Linked DNA regions of Homo sapiens: regions 1, 3, 4 and 5 are each linked to region 2. Evidence: promoter capture Hi-C in human tissues and cell types (Jung and others, 2019). All regions are on one chromosome and are shown on one strand. The core of a region is centred on a gene start or on the middle of the fragment in contact, and the rest is flanking DNA. Distances in the headings are between cores, read along the strand shown.

What was found. The method cuts DNA at HindIII sites, captures the fragments that hold promoters and counts their contacts. A contact is called where the count stands out against the background at its distance.
Region 1: the fragment with the promoter of RAB4B-EGLN2 here is called in contact with the fragment with the promoter of CIC in region 2 in 1 of the 25 tissues and cell types used here (pancreas).
Region 3: a contact is called between the fragment with the promoter of ZNF428 here and the fragment with the promoter of CIC in region 2, in 1 of the 25 tissues and cell types used here (psoas muscle).
Region 4: a fragment that was not itself captured here is called in contact with the fragment with the promoter of CIC in region 2 in 1 of the 25 tissues and cell types used here (aorta).
Region 5: a contact is called between a fragment that was not itself captured here and the fragment with the promoter of CIC in region 2, in 1 of the 25 tissues and cell types used here (pancreas).

The regions. Positions count from the first base shown.
Region 1 is chr19:40,776,933-40,779,632 of GRCh38, reverse strand. It overlaps RAB4B-EGLN2 (RAB4B-EGLN2 readthrough (NMD candidate)), which reads right to left and starts at 1,414. Exons shown (of 12, transcript NR_037791.1): 1 at 1,242-1,414. It overlaps MIA (MIA SH3 domain containing), which reads right to left. Exons shown (of 4, transcript NM_006533.4): 3 at 2,554-2,664; 4 at 2,143-2,236. The coding sequence ends at 2,213. It overlaps RAB4B (RAB4B, member RAS oncogene family), which reads right to left and starts at 1,386. Exons shown (of 8, transcript NM_016154.5): 1 at 1,242-1,386. The coding sequence starts at 1,257. It overlaps MIA-RAB4B (MIA-RAB4B readthrough (NMD candidate)), which reads right to left. Exons shown (of 10, transcript NR_037775.1): 3 at 2,554-2,664. RefSeq lists enhancers at 1-315, 1,203-1,272 and silencers at 1,333-1,572, 2,123-2,252. The HindIII fragment of the contact is 40,090 bases long and covers 1-2,339 here.
Region 2 is chr19:42,267,940-42,270,639 of GRCh38, reverse strand. CIC (capicua transcriptional repressor) reads right to left here and starts at 1,388. Exons shown (of 21, transcript NM_001386298.1): 1 at 1,259-1,388. RefSeq lists an enhancer at 1,889-2,398. The HindIII fragment of the contact is 15,630 bases long and covers 1-2,700 here.
Region 3 is chr19:43,618,241-43,620,940 of GRCh38, reverse strand. It overlaps ZNF428 (zinc finger protein 428), which reads left to right and starts at 1,312. Exons shown (of 3, transcript NM_182498.4): 1 at 1,312-1,383. It overlaps LOC105372411 (a long non-coding RNA gene), which reads right to left and starts at 1,880. Exons shown (of 4, transcript XR_001753942.2): 1 at 1,309-1,880. RefSeq lists a silencer at 1,259-1,498 and an enhancer at 1,303-1,953. The HindIII fragment of the contact is 11,511 bases long and covers 1-2,700 here.
Region 4 is chr19:43,559,501-43,562,200 of GRCh38, reverse strand. XRCC1 (X-ray repair cross complementing 1) reads left to right here. Exons shown (of 17, transcript NM_006297.3): 3 at 1,181-1,291. Among named protein-coding and RNA genes, the nearest start is that of XRCC1, 15 kb to the left of the region's middle. The HindIII fragment of the contact is 6,758 bases long and covers 1-2,700 here.
Region 5 is chr19:43,538,409-43,541,108 of GRCh38, reverse strand. No RefSeq gene overlaps it. Among named protein-coding and RNA genes, the nearest start is that of ZNF575, 6.6 kb to the right of the region's middle. The HindIII fragment of the contact is 6,429 bases long and covers 1-2,700 here.

The sequences.
Region 1 (2,700 bases), core at 165-2,664, 1.5 Mb after region 2:
TAGCTGGGATTACAGGCATGCGCCACCACACTCAGCTAATTCTGTATTTTTAGTAGAGACGGGGTTTCTCCATGTTGGTCAGGCTGGTCTCAAACTCCCGACCTCAGGTGATCCGCCTGCCTCAGCCTCCCAAAGTGCTGGGATTACAGGCATGAGCCACCGCGCCCAGCCCACATGTGCAGGTTTGTTACATGGGTCAATTGTGTGTTGTTGTGGGCCAGGAACAGTTCTAAAGGTCTTTACTCACATCAACAGCTCACATCATCCTCAGGAAAACTCTATGAGGGAGGTAGACTAAAAATTATTCCCATTTTCCGGATGAGGTAACAGGCCAGAAAGGTTAACTGACTTGCCCAAAGTGACACAGCTGGGCAGAAGTGAGATTCAAACCTAGGCCAAGGGCTCCAGAGTCCCAGATCTTAGCTATTTTGTCGCTAAAGTCTCTTGAAAGCTATTTAAACAAGGACTACGATATAGCCCTTGTTCCTCTTCACCTCCTACCACCCTCTGACTCATTCACTCCACTATAGCTCCTGACCTTCAGTCTATTCCCTGAAAATGACAAGCTGGTTCTCACCTCAGGGTCTTTGCACTCTTCTCCCTTCTCTTCTATATTTGTTGAGTGAATGCGGCTCCCTCTGACTCCTAAACCTGCACTTCCCCTGCCTCCAATCACCACCTCCTATGGTGCATCCCTACTGATTTTCCACTTCCCGACCTCTCCTTCCCTCCCTCTGCCCAGAACCCGGCTCCATTCTCATGCATAAGTCCCACCCTTTGCCACTAAGTCCTGCCCCTAACTCAAGGACAGCCCATCCCCAAACCCATTCCAGAGCTCTCTCCAGCCAGATCAGCCCCAGGGTCCCGAGCTTCCATTCAGTGTTCCCTCTAGCCCATAAGCCCGACTCCTGCCATTCATGCAGTCAGCCCCGCCCCTTCACTCAGGCTCCGCCCAGATCCATTAAGGCCCACCTCTTCCCTCAGGGCCTCCCTGAACCCCTCAGGACCAGCTCCCTCAAATCCCGCCCCAGATCTATTTAACCCACGCACCAGACCCTCAGGCTCCACCTAAATCGATTAAGCTCAGCCTCAGACCCACTAAACCCCTCCCAGCATCCACTTAGGTCCTGCCTCCATCACACCAGACCCCGCCCCCTGATCTACAAAGCCCCGCCCATTCCCACAGGCCGCATCCTCCCTGGGCCCAGACCCAGGACCCCAGCTTCGTCCACCACCCTCACCGTAGGTCTCAGCCATGACTCGGTCGCGGCCGCTGAGGGCCGCAATATGGCGCCGCGGCCGCGCCTGCTCCTCGGCTGGCAGCCGCTCCACTCCGGCTACAGCCCCGGCTCCTTCCTACTCCCCGGGCCCGGCACCGCCACTTCCGCCTCCGCCCCCCTCCGGCGCGACCCGCTCCGGCAGCTGGATACCAGGCGACGCTTTCCGAAGGGCGGGATTGGCGGACTCGCGGGCAGGGGGCGGGACAAGAGGCGCGGATTGGTGGCGTGAGAAGGACCAAGCCCAAAGGGGCGGGGCCGAGCCCAGCGATTGGCTGAGCAAGTGGGAAGGGACGTGCAGAGCTGCTTAGCTGAGCCGAGGAACGGATTTAGTCTGGAGTACGGGGGGCAGAGTCGAGTCTCCGGATTGGATCGGAGCGGACTTGGGGGAGGGGATACAAATGCAAAGAAGGGGGCACGGGCAGGATTGACAGAAAGAGGCTGGAAGAGGAGCTGATCTTGAGCTGGCGGGAGCGATTACTGTTCTCAAAGGCGAAAAGGAGGAAAACTGGGCAGATAGGCGCAGGTTACTTCCCACCTCCCTTTCCAGATAATCTTCCAAGAAAACCTTTACTGTGCGATTTATATCCTCCGCGTAGTCCGATTGGCTCCCTCCCACTGGTCTAGAGAGGACACTACAATCCCCTAGTTGGGCTGCTTAGGTTTTCCTTTGCTTGTGTCCGAAACCTAAGCTTAGGAGCGCTCCTACTGCACAGGGCTTTCATCAGTGAAACTCTGCCTAGCAACCACTGACGTTACCACAGGCAGCGGGTTAATTGGTTAGATTCAGCAACCTAGAGAAACATTTCATTTGTACAGTCCCCACCCTACCCTACCCCACCCCAAAGACCACGGAGACGAGCCGTTTGCACTGGGCTGATTGTATTTGCATAAAGCCAAGGAGGGGAAACGGCAGGGCCAGCGGTAGGCTGAGCTCACTGGCAGTAGAAATCCCATTTCTGAAAAAGAGAAAGGGGAAACAGTGGAAAGAAAACCAGCGGTCACACCACAAAGGATCTAGTGGTTTTAGCAAAGGCTGCAGCTGCAGGGCCCAGGTCTGGCCACACAAGTGCTATGCAAATTAGCCTAGAGCCCTCTAATCTTTGCACCTCCCAACTGGACCCATTTTACTGGTGAGAAAATTGAGGCAGGGAAAGAATTTCTCCCAGCGCACATACCTAGGCTGCCAGGGAGCCAAGTGTGGGAGCATTTTTGCCCATCCCCACAACCTAAGGGTCCTCCCCCCACATTTCTTGCCAGCCCCCATGACACTCACGTCTGTCTTCACATCGACTTTGCCAGGTTTCAGGGTCTGGTCCTCTCGGACAATGCTACTGGGGAAATAGCCCAGGCGAGCAGCCAGATCTCCATAGTAATCTCCCTGAACCTGGGGAAGAGGAGTTAAAAGCTAGGGTCTGGGAAG
Region 2 (2,700 bases), core at 139-2,638:
GCAGGCCCCCAAATATGCCCTCCAACTCCAAGTGGGGATAGGTGGGATAAGGTCAAAGAAAGCAGGACAAGCCCAACAGGCCAACCTCACCCACTTCCTGAACAGTCATTACTGCCCGCCCCCTTTCGAGCTGCCCTGAGAAAAGAAAAGGGGAAAAAACTTTACTCTGAAGTGACTAAGAGAACCTGAGAGGCCAAAACAGAGGCCTCTAGGAGGGTTGGGGGACCCAGAACCATAAGCCAAACACAATGAGAGGCAACCCCGACTCAGTCTTCCAGCTACTGGGGGACCCTTGACCTCATGCTCTCTCACTAGGGGCCTGCTCCTCCTGTGGACCCTGGAGTCCCAGGCCTGCCCTTTCTTGGGCCAATCCTGGGGTCCTCACAGGCAGAGCCTGGAGGGCGTCCCGGGGCTGGCACCCAAATGCCCAGAAGTTGGGCAGCCATCACCACCTAATACCCGCTGACCCACTAGACTACCATGTTGGGGACTGAGATCTGGCTCCAGTTTTTTCCAAGCACAAACCTTTGCATACCCCACCCAGGGCCTACAACTATGCCGCCTGGACCCCTAGACCTTGCTGCCTGGCCCAGCCTCTCTTCGCCCCAGAGCTGCTTTCTTTCCCCTAGGGCCTACTCTCTTCCTGTCCACCCTGTCTGAATAACTCCCACCCAAGCCCCGGGGGCCCTCACCTTCCTCAGATCTGAGTAGTAACTCCCGGAGCCCAGGCCAGCCCAGGCCCTGGCTCTTTGGGGTCTCATACCCTCTGTTCCCATTAGCCCTCCTGGCACCAGCTTCTCTGACACTCTCTCTCTCATCCTGTCACTACCTCTATCTCTACCTCTCGGTTAAAATGCCCTAGGCCCCCTCCTGTCACCCCCTCCTTGTCACCCCCATTTATCTCTGTCACCTATTCCTCCCAGTCACTGTCCTGTCAGCCATCTCCGGACCTGTCACCTTCTCTCCCCATCACCTCTCCTTGTCACACTCTCCAACTCTGTCCCCTCCCTCTCCCTGTCACCCTGATCTAGTCCTGTCACCCCTCCATTCCTGTTACCCTTCTTTGCCCACCACCCCCTCCCCCAGTTACCCTTTTTCTGTCAAACCCCCACCACTTCCTCCACTCCCTCCTCCCTTCCCACCATTCCGCCCACCCCTTTCCCCCTGTACCCCCTCCCCGTCCCTGCCACCTGTCCCCTCTCGGCCCCCAGCCCCCCGGACCCCCCTTTCCTGTGTCAGCCCTGGCCCCGCCCCTCACCTTGGGCTCGGCGGGGTTTCGGGGCGGGGGGCCGTGGCCCCGGCTCGGTCCGGTCCGGTCCCTCCCCGCCCCCCCTCCGGCTCTCCCTCTCGATTCTCCCTTTTTTTTTTACTCCAACACACAAAATGGTGAATGGACCTGCAACAGCTGGAGCAGCCAGCCAATCAGCGATCACAACCCCACTGACCGGCGCCAGCCTAGACCAATAGATATCCGCAGACTGGTCGGCTCCGCCTCTCGACGACGAGCGACGCTCGCGGCGACCAATTGGGCCCATCGGGCAGCGCTAGGGGGCGGGGCCAAAGTCCAAGACCGGCCTCCCTCCGGGACCGACACCAACCTGAGCCTACGACTGCCTGATCTGCCTAGGGCCCTACCCTACAACAAGTGAAGGACACCAGTCGTGTCCAATTGCAGGCCGTCTTAGTTCCAAATGACAAATACAGTACCCAGTCGCCATGCAGCCTAGGCCGGAACCCAGCCTCTGTGAGGGACAGTAGCCAATGAAATGAAAGGAGGAGGGGCTAAGGGACGGGTTGTCCAATGAACGGAGGTAGAAGGCGTGGCCCGAACGTTTGTTGACCGGCTAGTCGCAGTTCCTGCTGGGAACCGTAGTCTTCTCACGTCTTCGGCCCATAGCCGACAGTACAAGGCAGACTACAACTCCCATGTGACAGAGTGCTTGGAGCACCAAAGAAACCCGGCGAGGAGAAAAAGTCGAAAAGGGCAGTTCGTCGTGAGTCTCACTGGACGCCAGGAGTATCTTAGACCCAGGGCCCCGACTCACCCGTATTCCTGGCTCTGGCGTCGCCGGTGGCTCCTCTCAGTGGCAGCGGTAGCGGCACGAGGGGGAGGTGCAAGGAGCAGCCAACCGCCACCCGCGAGCCCCGCAGCCAATCAGCAGCGGCCGGGGCGGTGCAATGACCTCACCGGTTCTACTCTCTTACCCCTCCCCCACGTGGTTGTTGCTGCCGGTAGACGGAGTAGGGAAGTTTGGATTGGGGGAGGGGAGGAGAACCAGTGATGTCACCTTTCCCCTTGTTGATTGGCTGCCGGGTGGCCGGGACTACGACCAATTGACGGTCTCGAAAAGTCTGGCGCGGCCCCGCGGAAAGCCCTGTTGCCACCGGGAGGGGAGAGAACGCGCGCTTGTGGGGTGTCGCGCGCTGCAGTATAGGCAACGCGCGCGGCCTGGGGCCCGGGGGACAGGTCACCTCCTCCAAGAGTTTGACATTTAGGACAGCGCAGTTTGACAGCCCACTAGGCATTGGGGCAGGGGGCCGAGATGACGAAATGCAGCGCTTCTTGGGGCTTCGCACTGCATTACGTGGAGAGCTACACTTTGTGGGTGTACGCCCCTGACAGAGGCAGATTTTTAAAGATCCCAGGGGTAGGAGGGTATCACACTGGAGTGGAGGAGGACAGGGAGATGCCCTGTTTGT
Region 3 (2,700 bases), core at 63-2,562, 1.4 Mb before region 2:
GCCTCTCAGATTGACATCTGTACCAAGATATGAATGGTGAGCACAAGAGTAGGTATTCAAAGGTCAGAGGGAAAAGCATTTTCAGGCGGAGGGAACGGCAAGAGCAGAGGCCCGAGCTGGTAAAGAGTTTGGGGTAAGGTGGAGCTGGACAGAAATGGAGGGAGGAGGAAGTAGGTGGGGTCAGAAAGATAAGCACGGCCAGACCAGGTGTATAGCCCTGAGGCCATGATAAAGATTTTTGGATTTTTTTTTTTTCCTAATGGGATCCCTTTGGGGGAGTTTTAAGCCAGAATGTGACAAAGTCACTTACAGGAAGACTGGAATGTAGCCATAGTTGAACTCTAACATCGTCTATAGAACCATTTCCCGTCTCCAGTTAGGTTCTAGGCATACTAAGCTGCTCTTGCTTCCTCAATCAAAACATGCGCTTCTATTTTTTTTTTTTTTTTTTTGGCCTCTGGGCCTTGGCGCTTGCAGTTCATTCTGCCAGACCCATTCCCATTCTAGTTGGCTCCTATTCGTACTTGGCTTAAGGATCACCACCTCCTGGAAGTCTTTCTAGAACCAGAGGCCGGGGCAAGCGCCTCTTAGGCTCCCACAGCCCCCTGTGTTCCTCACTCCAGGTCTGACCTTCTGGGTAGTAGTTGTCTAATTAGGTGCGTATCTCCTTCGACTGGGGTGCCGTGAGTACAGGAGTATGGTTCACTGCAGAAACCACAGAATCCGCCAGCATGGGGCCTGACACCTAGGAGATCAATAAACCTTTATCCTGGTTGGGAGGGGTCCTGGCCCTCGTGCCCTCTCTCAGGATGCAAACTGATCCCCTACGAAGACAAGGCTACCCACTTCGCGTCAGTCTGCAGTCCCTGCGCGCATGCGCTTTGCTCAGGTTGCCCCCGCCATATGCTAATCACTGCGCTCTGGAGTAAGGCCCCTCCGGGGAATATGCAAATCACTCCTTCCAGTGCGGGAGGCCTTTCATTGTCCCGCGCTAGGATTATGCAAATAAGCAGGCCTCGGGCCCAGGATCCAGTCCGAACTAGCGCCCTCCACCCCCAGCGCATCCCAGTTTTGTAAGGCGCGTTCCTGCCCCGCACACGCACGCGCGAACCCTTCAGCTTCTTGTTCCTTTGGGCCGCGGGCTGTACCAAGTAAACCCAGGCAGCGAGGGGCAAAGCACGGCGCCCCCCGCGCGGGTCTCGTCGACGGCCCGACGCGCATAGCCCCTCTTCCCACAGCGCTACAGGACTAGTCCGTCTCGCCGCGCAAGCGCCCTAGGCTCTTCACGCCCCCTGCGCGCTGTCCTACCCTACTTGCGACGCAGGCGCAGAGGCTGGGCGTGCAGCCGCCGCCGCAGAGCCGGAGCGGGGGCCGCCGGCGCCGGTGAGTGTCCCGGGCAGGGGTGCGCGAGGCATGCCGGGAAGCGGGCGCTACGGCCCCGCTGCATGATGGGAGCGACGACTCCCGTCACCGGGGAGCCGGCGGTCTGGGGCCGTGGTGACCCGAGGGCTTCTTTTTCTCCCCCTACGCGTTTGTGCCGCCCTGGGGCATCCTGGGAGAACCGAGCGCTCCGCCTTGAAGCGCTGTGGGAGTCGGTCCGCTAGTCGTAGGCCTGGTGCATCCTGGGAAAGAGTGTCCCAGATCCTTGTCGAGACCGGTTCCTTTTATCCCACACCTGCCGCTGACCGTCCTGGAGGCTTGGAGCGCTTCCACACGGGGAGTCTGGGAAGGTGGTCGCTATAGGCCTAAGGCATCCTGGGAAGAACTGCCACAACGAATTGTGGGAACTGGCCGTTATTGTCCCGTAGTGGAAGGTTTTGCCCTGGTCTCTTTGCTCGAGCATTGGAACGGGTGCCTATTGTGTTCACGCGGGGCATCTTGGGAATTGACTGCTATAGGCCCAGGGCATTGTGGGGTCTCCAGCACTGTGTTTGCCTTTCAGTTTGGCTGCCATAGGCGTGGTAGGAGTGGGACTTGTGAACCAAGGGATGGCCCTACCTGACGTCTGGAATACTCTGGAAGGGGCCTTGTGTGACGTGGGCTTGGAAAAGTGTAGGCTGATGGGCATTGTCTCCTGGTAACTTCAGGGAATGTCTTGATTGTCCCAGGTGTGTGGTTGCCGTATAAAATATACAATGTCTAGTTAAATTTGAATTTCAGATAAACAATTATATCCAAAAGATACAACCTTTTAGAAAAGTATGTCCCAAATATCACATGGAACATAGCTATATTAATTCTTTGGGCTAGTTGCAGTGATACCAATACTTTGGGAGGCTAAGGCAGGAGGATCGCTTGAGACCAGGAGTTCAAGACCAGCCTGGGCAATATAGTGAGACCCCCGTCTCTACAAAAAAAAAAAAAAAAAAAAAAAGTAAAAATTAAGCCTGGCATGGTGGCGCATACCTGTAGTCCCAGCTGCTCTCCTAGGGGCTAGTAGGGTACCTTGAGCACAGGAGTTTGAGGTTACAGTGAGCTAACCTCCCAACCTGGTTATGGGGGAGTACATGAGTTAAGGCCTGGAAGCCCCTTTCCTACAGATCACCCTACTGCACTCCAGCCTGGGCAACTGAGCGAGACCCTGTCTCTTAAAAAATATAAATAAGTAGGCTGGGCGCGGTGGCTCACGCCTGTAATCCCAGCACTTTGGGAGGCCGAGGCGGGTGGATCACGAGGTCAGGAGATCGAGATCATCCTGGC
Region 4 (2,700 bases), core at 42-2,541, 1.3 Mb before region 2:
GGAGAGGGCAGTGTAGGGTGGACTAGGTACCTTGGTTTTTTTTTTTTTTTTTTTTGTGACAGAGTCTCGCTCTGTCACCCAGGCTGGAGTGCAGTGGCATGATCTCTGCTTACTGAAACCTCTGCCTCCTAGGTTCAAGAGATTCTTGTGCCTCAGCCTCTTGAAGAGCTGGGACTACAGGCATGTGTCACCATGCCCGGCTATATTTTATATTTTTAGTAGAGAAGGGGTTTTGCCATGTTGGCCAGGCTGGCCTCAAGTGGTCCACTGCCTTGGCCTCGCAGAGTGCTGGATTTACAGGCTTGAGCCACTGCACCTGGCCCAGGTACCTTTGAGAGTTGTAATAATGCGTCATTCTAGGATCCTAATAAAAGAGCCCCAAACTGGAAGGCAGGACACTTGCCTCAACCTAACTGCCTCCCGTGCCCGCATGGCCCGCACGGCTTTCTGCATCTTCATCTGTCAGACAGGAATGGCAGATCCTTTGAGATGAGCCCTCCTATAGGTAGCTCTTTTCTTCTTTCAACAAATAGTTGTCTAGCACTGACTAATAATACCTCCTGACTGACAGCAGATAATTGCCTACTCTTCGCCATGCCCTGTGGCCATTATTTATGTGCATGATCCTAGATATGGTGGTCATTCCCATTTTACAGATGAGAAAACTGAGGCTCCAAAAGGTTAACTGGTATGGTCATACAGCTAGTGTGCAGCACAGCTGGGATTCAAACCCAGGAACCAGCGGTGAGCAAGATCGGACAAAGCCCCTGCCCTCAGGGAGGTTTCCTGGAGTCCTCTGCGATTGTGGGTGAGGGGTGACATGTGCTGTTTGTCTGCATGATGATTTGAATAAAGTTATAACTCTGGCAAGTGCTTATCAAGGAGAGCTCTATGGCAGTGTGTGATAAGCTGACCTGGTGGAGTCTGGAGAGGTCAGGGAAGCAGGTATGTGTGAGGTGGGCGCGTATGCATTCATTCAGTGACTATTTTGTGAGTTTCTGCTCCATGCCATACCCTGTGCTGCATGGAGGGGACACATGGCACCATTCAACCCTGGTGTGCCCCCTCACAGAATTGACATTACAGGGACATGGTGATCCAAAGGAGATTCATCCTGAGGTCCCACAGTGAGCCCAGAGGCAGAGCAGGCACTGACAGTGGCCTCTCTCTCTGCCCACAGTTGGAGAAGGAGGAGCAGATACACAGTGTGGACATTGGGAATGATGGCTCAGCTTTCGTGGAGGTGCTGGTGGGCAGTTCAGCTGGAGGCGCTGGGGAGCAAGACTATGAGGTAAGCAGGGCTATGAGATGGATCCCATACTGACCTCTGCCCCTCATGCTCGCATCACCGTCTCCCCCAGGGGCTGGGGCTGGGAAGACATGGGGCAGATGTGAGTCACACCTGATTGCTGCCCTCTGGAGGATCACCCAGTGTACGGAGGAGACAGAAGGCAGACACAGGGCGGTAAACTGCACATCAGGGAAGAGAGCAAGTTTGGATCATGGCTTAAAATGACACAAATGTATTATTCGACTGTTCTGGAGGTCAGAAGTCTGAAATCACTCTCACTGGGCTAAAATCTAGGTGTAGGCAGAGCCCTGTTCCTTCTGGAGGCTCTAGGGGAGAATCCATTTCCTTGCCTATTTCAGCTTCTAGAGTCCATCTGCCCTCCTCAGCTTGTGACCCTTCCTTCATCAAAGCCAGCACTCCTGTCACTCTAACGCCTGCTTCCACTTCCATTGTTACTTCTCCAACTCTGACTCTCTTGCCTTCTTTTTTTCTTTTTCTTTTTTTTTTTTTGAGACGGAGTCTCGCTCTGTCGCCCAGGCTGGAGTGAGTGCACTGGCGCGATCTCAGCTCCTTGCAACCTCTGCCTCCCGGGTTCAAGCTATTCTTCTGCCTCAGCCTCCCGAGTTGCTGGGACTACAGGTGCCCACCACCACGCCCGGCTAACTTTTTTTTTTTGTATTTTTAGTAGAGACGGGGTTTCACCATATTGGCCAGGCTGGTCTCGAACTCCTGACCTCGTCATCTGCCCGCCTCAGCCTCCCAAAGTGCTGGGATTACAGGCGTGAGCCACTGCGCCTGGCCTTCTTTTTCTTTTGTTCATTTTTTTTTGAGACAGGGTTTCATTTCCGTTGCCCAGGCTGGAGTACAGTGGCGTGTTCTCAGCTCACTGCAACTTCTGCCTCTGAGGTTCAAGTGATTCTCCCACCTCAGCCTCCCAAGTAGCCAGGGCTACAGGTGCACACCACCACTCCTGGCTAGCTTTTGTTATTTTTTATAGAGAGAGGGTTTCACTGTGTTGCCCAGGCTGGTCTCAAACTCCTGGGCTCAAGTGATCCACCCACCCCAGCCTCCCAAAGTGCTAGGATTACAGGCATGAGCCACCACACCCAGCCCTCCTTTCTTATAAAGACCCTTATGATGACACTTGGCCTACCCGGATAATCCAGGGGCATCTCCCCCATTTCAACATCTTCAAGTTCATCACATCTGCAAAGTGCCTTCTGCCACATTTCCAGGTTCAGGGATTAGGATGTAAACATCTTTGAGGAGCTGTTATTCTGCCTGTCTCCTATGTTTTCTTCTAGAAGCTTTCTATTTTTAGATTTTACATTTAGATCTCTGTTTCATCTCAAGTGAATTTTTGTGTATTGTGTGAAGCAGGGGATAAGGTTTATTTTTTCTGTATCTTT
Region 5 (2,700 bases), core at 96-2,595, 1.3 Mb before region 2:
CCTTAGCCACCCGAGTACCTGGGATTCCAGGCGCCTGCCATCATGCCCAGCTAATTTTTGTATTTTTAGTAGAGACGGGGTTTCGCCATGTTGGCCAGGCAGGTCTCGAACTCCTGACTTCAGGTGACCCACTCGCCTCAGCCATTCAAAGTGCTGGATTACAGGCGTGAGCCACTGTGCCCAGCTGGGATGTGAACATCTTTGGGAGGCCATTACTCTGCCTACCAAAGCCACCATGTGGGGGACACTGGGAAGACAGTATGAAAAAAACAGTAGTCCCCGATCTCATTGGCCTGACATTGTACAGGGGGAGAGAGATGGTGCACGTGCAATGCAACCTTGGACAGTGGGAAATGCTGTGAGAGCAAGGAAAATAGAGCATTGTGAGTGACAGAGCAATGGCAGGGTCCTGGTAGTTTATAGATAGGATGATTGGGGATGGCCTCTTGGAGGACTTACCCCTCTGCAGGGACCTGGGAGAAGTAAGGAGTATCTGAGAGAGCCCTTCCAGGTAGAGGAAAAGCAAGTGCAAAGGCCCCGAGGCAGGAGCGAGCATTATGTGTTCAAGGAACAGCTGGGTGGGTGTCAGGCTATCAAGAGACCTAGGATCCACCTAGACTCAGGTACTGCCCTGTGGTTTGGTTGCCAATAAATCTCATCTTTCCTGGCCTCATTTCCCCAATCTGTAAAAGTAAGGTTGGACCAGATCAACGCCCTCTCACATGAGTATGTGTCTTTGAAATTTTGCTGCTGGTGTGGTTGCTTTGGAGAAATTCTTCCGGACAGTTCTCTGCATAAACGTGGATACAAGCAGCACTGCTGGGTTGGGAGGACAGAGTAGAACCCTTACCCCTCCCAAAACCTTCCCCGAAATGCCTTACTGAGTAGAGTGCAGTTCAGCAGCCTGCTCAGTCCTAGCCCTTAGGCTGGACACTTTCTTTTCTCCTACTTTTATTTTAAGTTCGGGGGTACATGTGCAGGATGTGCAGTTTTGTTTCATAGGTAAATACATGCCATGGTGGTTTGCTGCACAGATCATCCCATCACCTGAGTATTAACCCCAGCGTGCATTAGGTATACTTCCTGATGCTCTTCCTAGCCCCCCACCCCCACCCCCTGACAGGCCCCAGTGTGTGTTGTTCCCCTGATGTGTTCTTTTTTTTTTTTCTGAGGCAGAGTCTCACTCTGTCGCCCAGGCTGGAGTGCAGTGGCATGATCTTGGCTCACTGCAACCTCTGCCTCCTGGGTTCAAGGGATTCTTGTGCCTCAGCCTCCCGAGTAGCTGGGATTACAGGCGTTTGCCACCACGCCCAGCTAATTTTTGTTTTTTAGTAGAGGGGGGTTTTGCCACGTTGGCCAGGCTGGTTTTGAACTGACCTCAGGTGATATGCCCGCCTCCACCTCCCAAAGTGCTGGGATTACAGGCGTGAGGCACCATGCCCGGCCATGTCCATGTGTTCTCATCATTCAGCTCCAACTTATAAGTGAGAACATGCAGTGTTTGATTTTCTGTTCCTGCGTTAGTTTGCTGAGGATAATGGCTTCCAGCTCCATCCATGTCCCTGCAAAAGATGTGATCTCATTCCATTTTATGGCTGCATAGTATTCCGTGGTGTATATGTACCAAATTTTCTTTATCCAATCTATGGACACTTTCTACTCTCTCACTCCTTCCACCACAACTTTCAGATCTCAGTTCAGACATTACATCCTCAACAAGGCCTTTCCTAACCTCCACTGTATAATAGGATATGCCAGGTACACACTCTTAAAATACTATATCTCATCCATCCTAGTCATAACTTTACATTCATTTATGGTCACATTTACCCATGTTTTCATCTATGATTTACATTCTTTTGTCTCTTAAGGATACTGTCTCTACTTCTGGAGTTACTAAGATAATTCTTCTTATTTCCATGTAAATATTTTTGAGTTCTTCTCTTCAGATTTAGATCTTAAACTCCCAGAAACTTGTTTTTGCATATGGTGTGAGGTAGGGATCTGCAGTAGTTTCCCATTGTTGCTGTAACAAATTGCCATAAGCTTAGTGGTTTTAAACTACACAAGTTAATTTTATTATAGTTCTGGAGGTCAGTAGTCCAAAATCAGCCTTATTGGGCTAAAATCAAGTGTCAGCAGGGCTGCAATCCTTCTGGAGGCTCTAAGGAGGAATTTATTTCCTTGCCCTTTGTAGGCAAAATTCCTTGACTTGGGGCCTTTCATCACTCGAATGTTTGCTTTCATGATCACCTCTCTCTGTCTTCTGCGTCCTTCTTTCCCATATAAGGACCTTTGTGATTATATTGGGCCTATCTGAATAATCAGGATAACTTACCCATCTCAATCACATCTGCAATGTCCCTTTTGCTACATGCAAGCTAACATACAGGTTCTGGGGATTCAAATGTGGATATCTTTGGGGGATCATTCTTCTACATACCAGGGGATTCAACTTAATTTTTCCCCATGTCTCTTAGCCTTATTTATGATTAGTCTGTCCATCCTCCACTCATCCATGTCAAGGCTCAACAAACTATAGCCCATAGGCAAAATCCAGCCTACCTAGTGTTTTGGTAAATGTTTATTGGAACACAGCCATGCTCATTCATTTATGTATTGTAATGTGTGTGGCTGCTTTCCTGCTACAGTGGCAGAGTGGAATAGTTGTGGAAGACACTGTATGGCCTGCAAAACTTA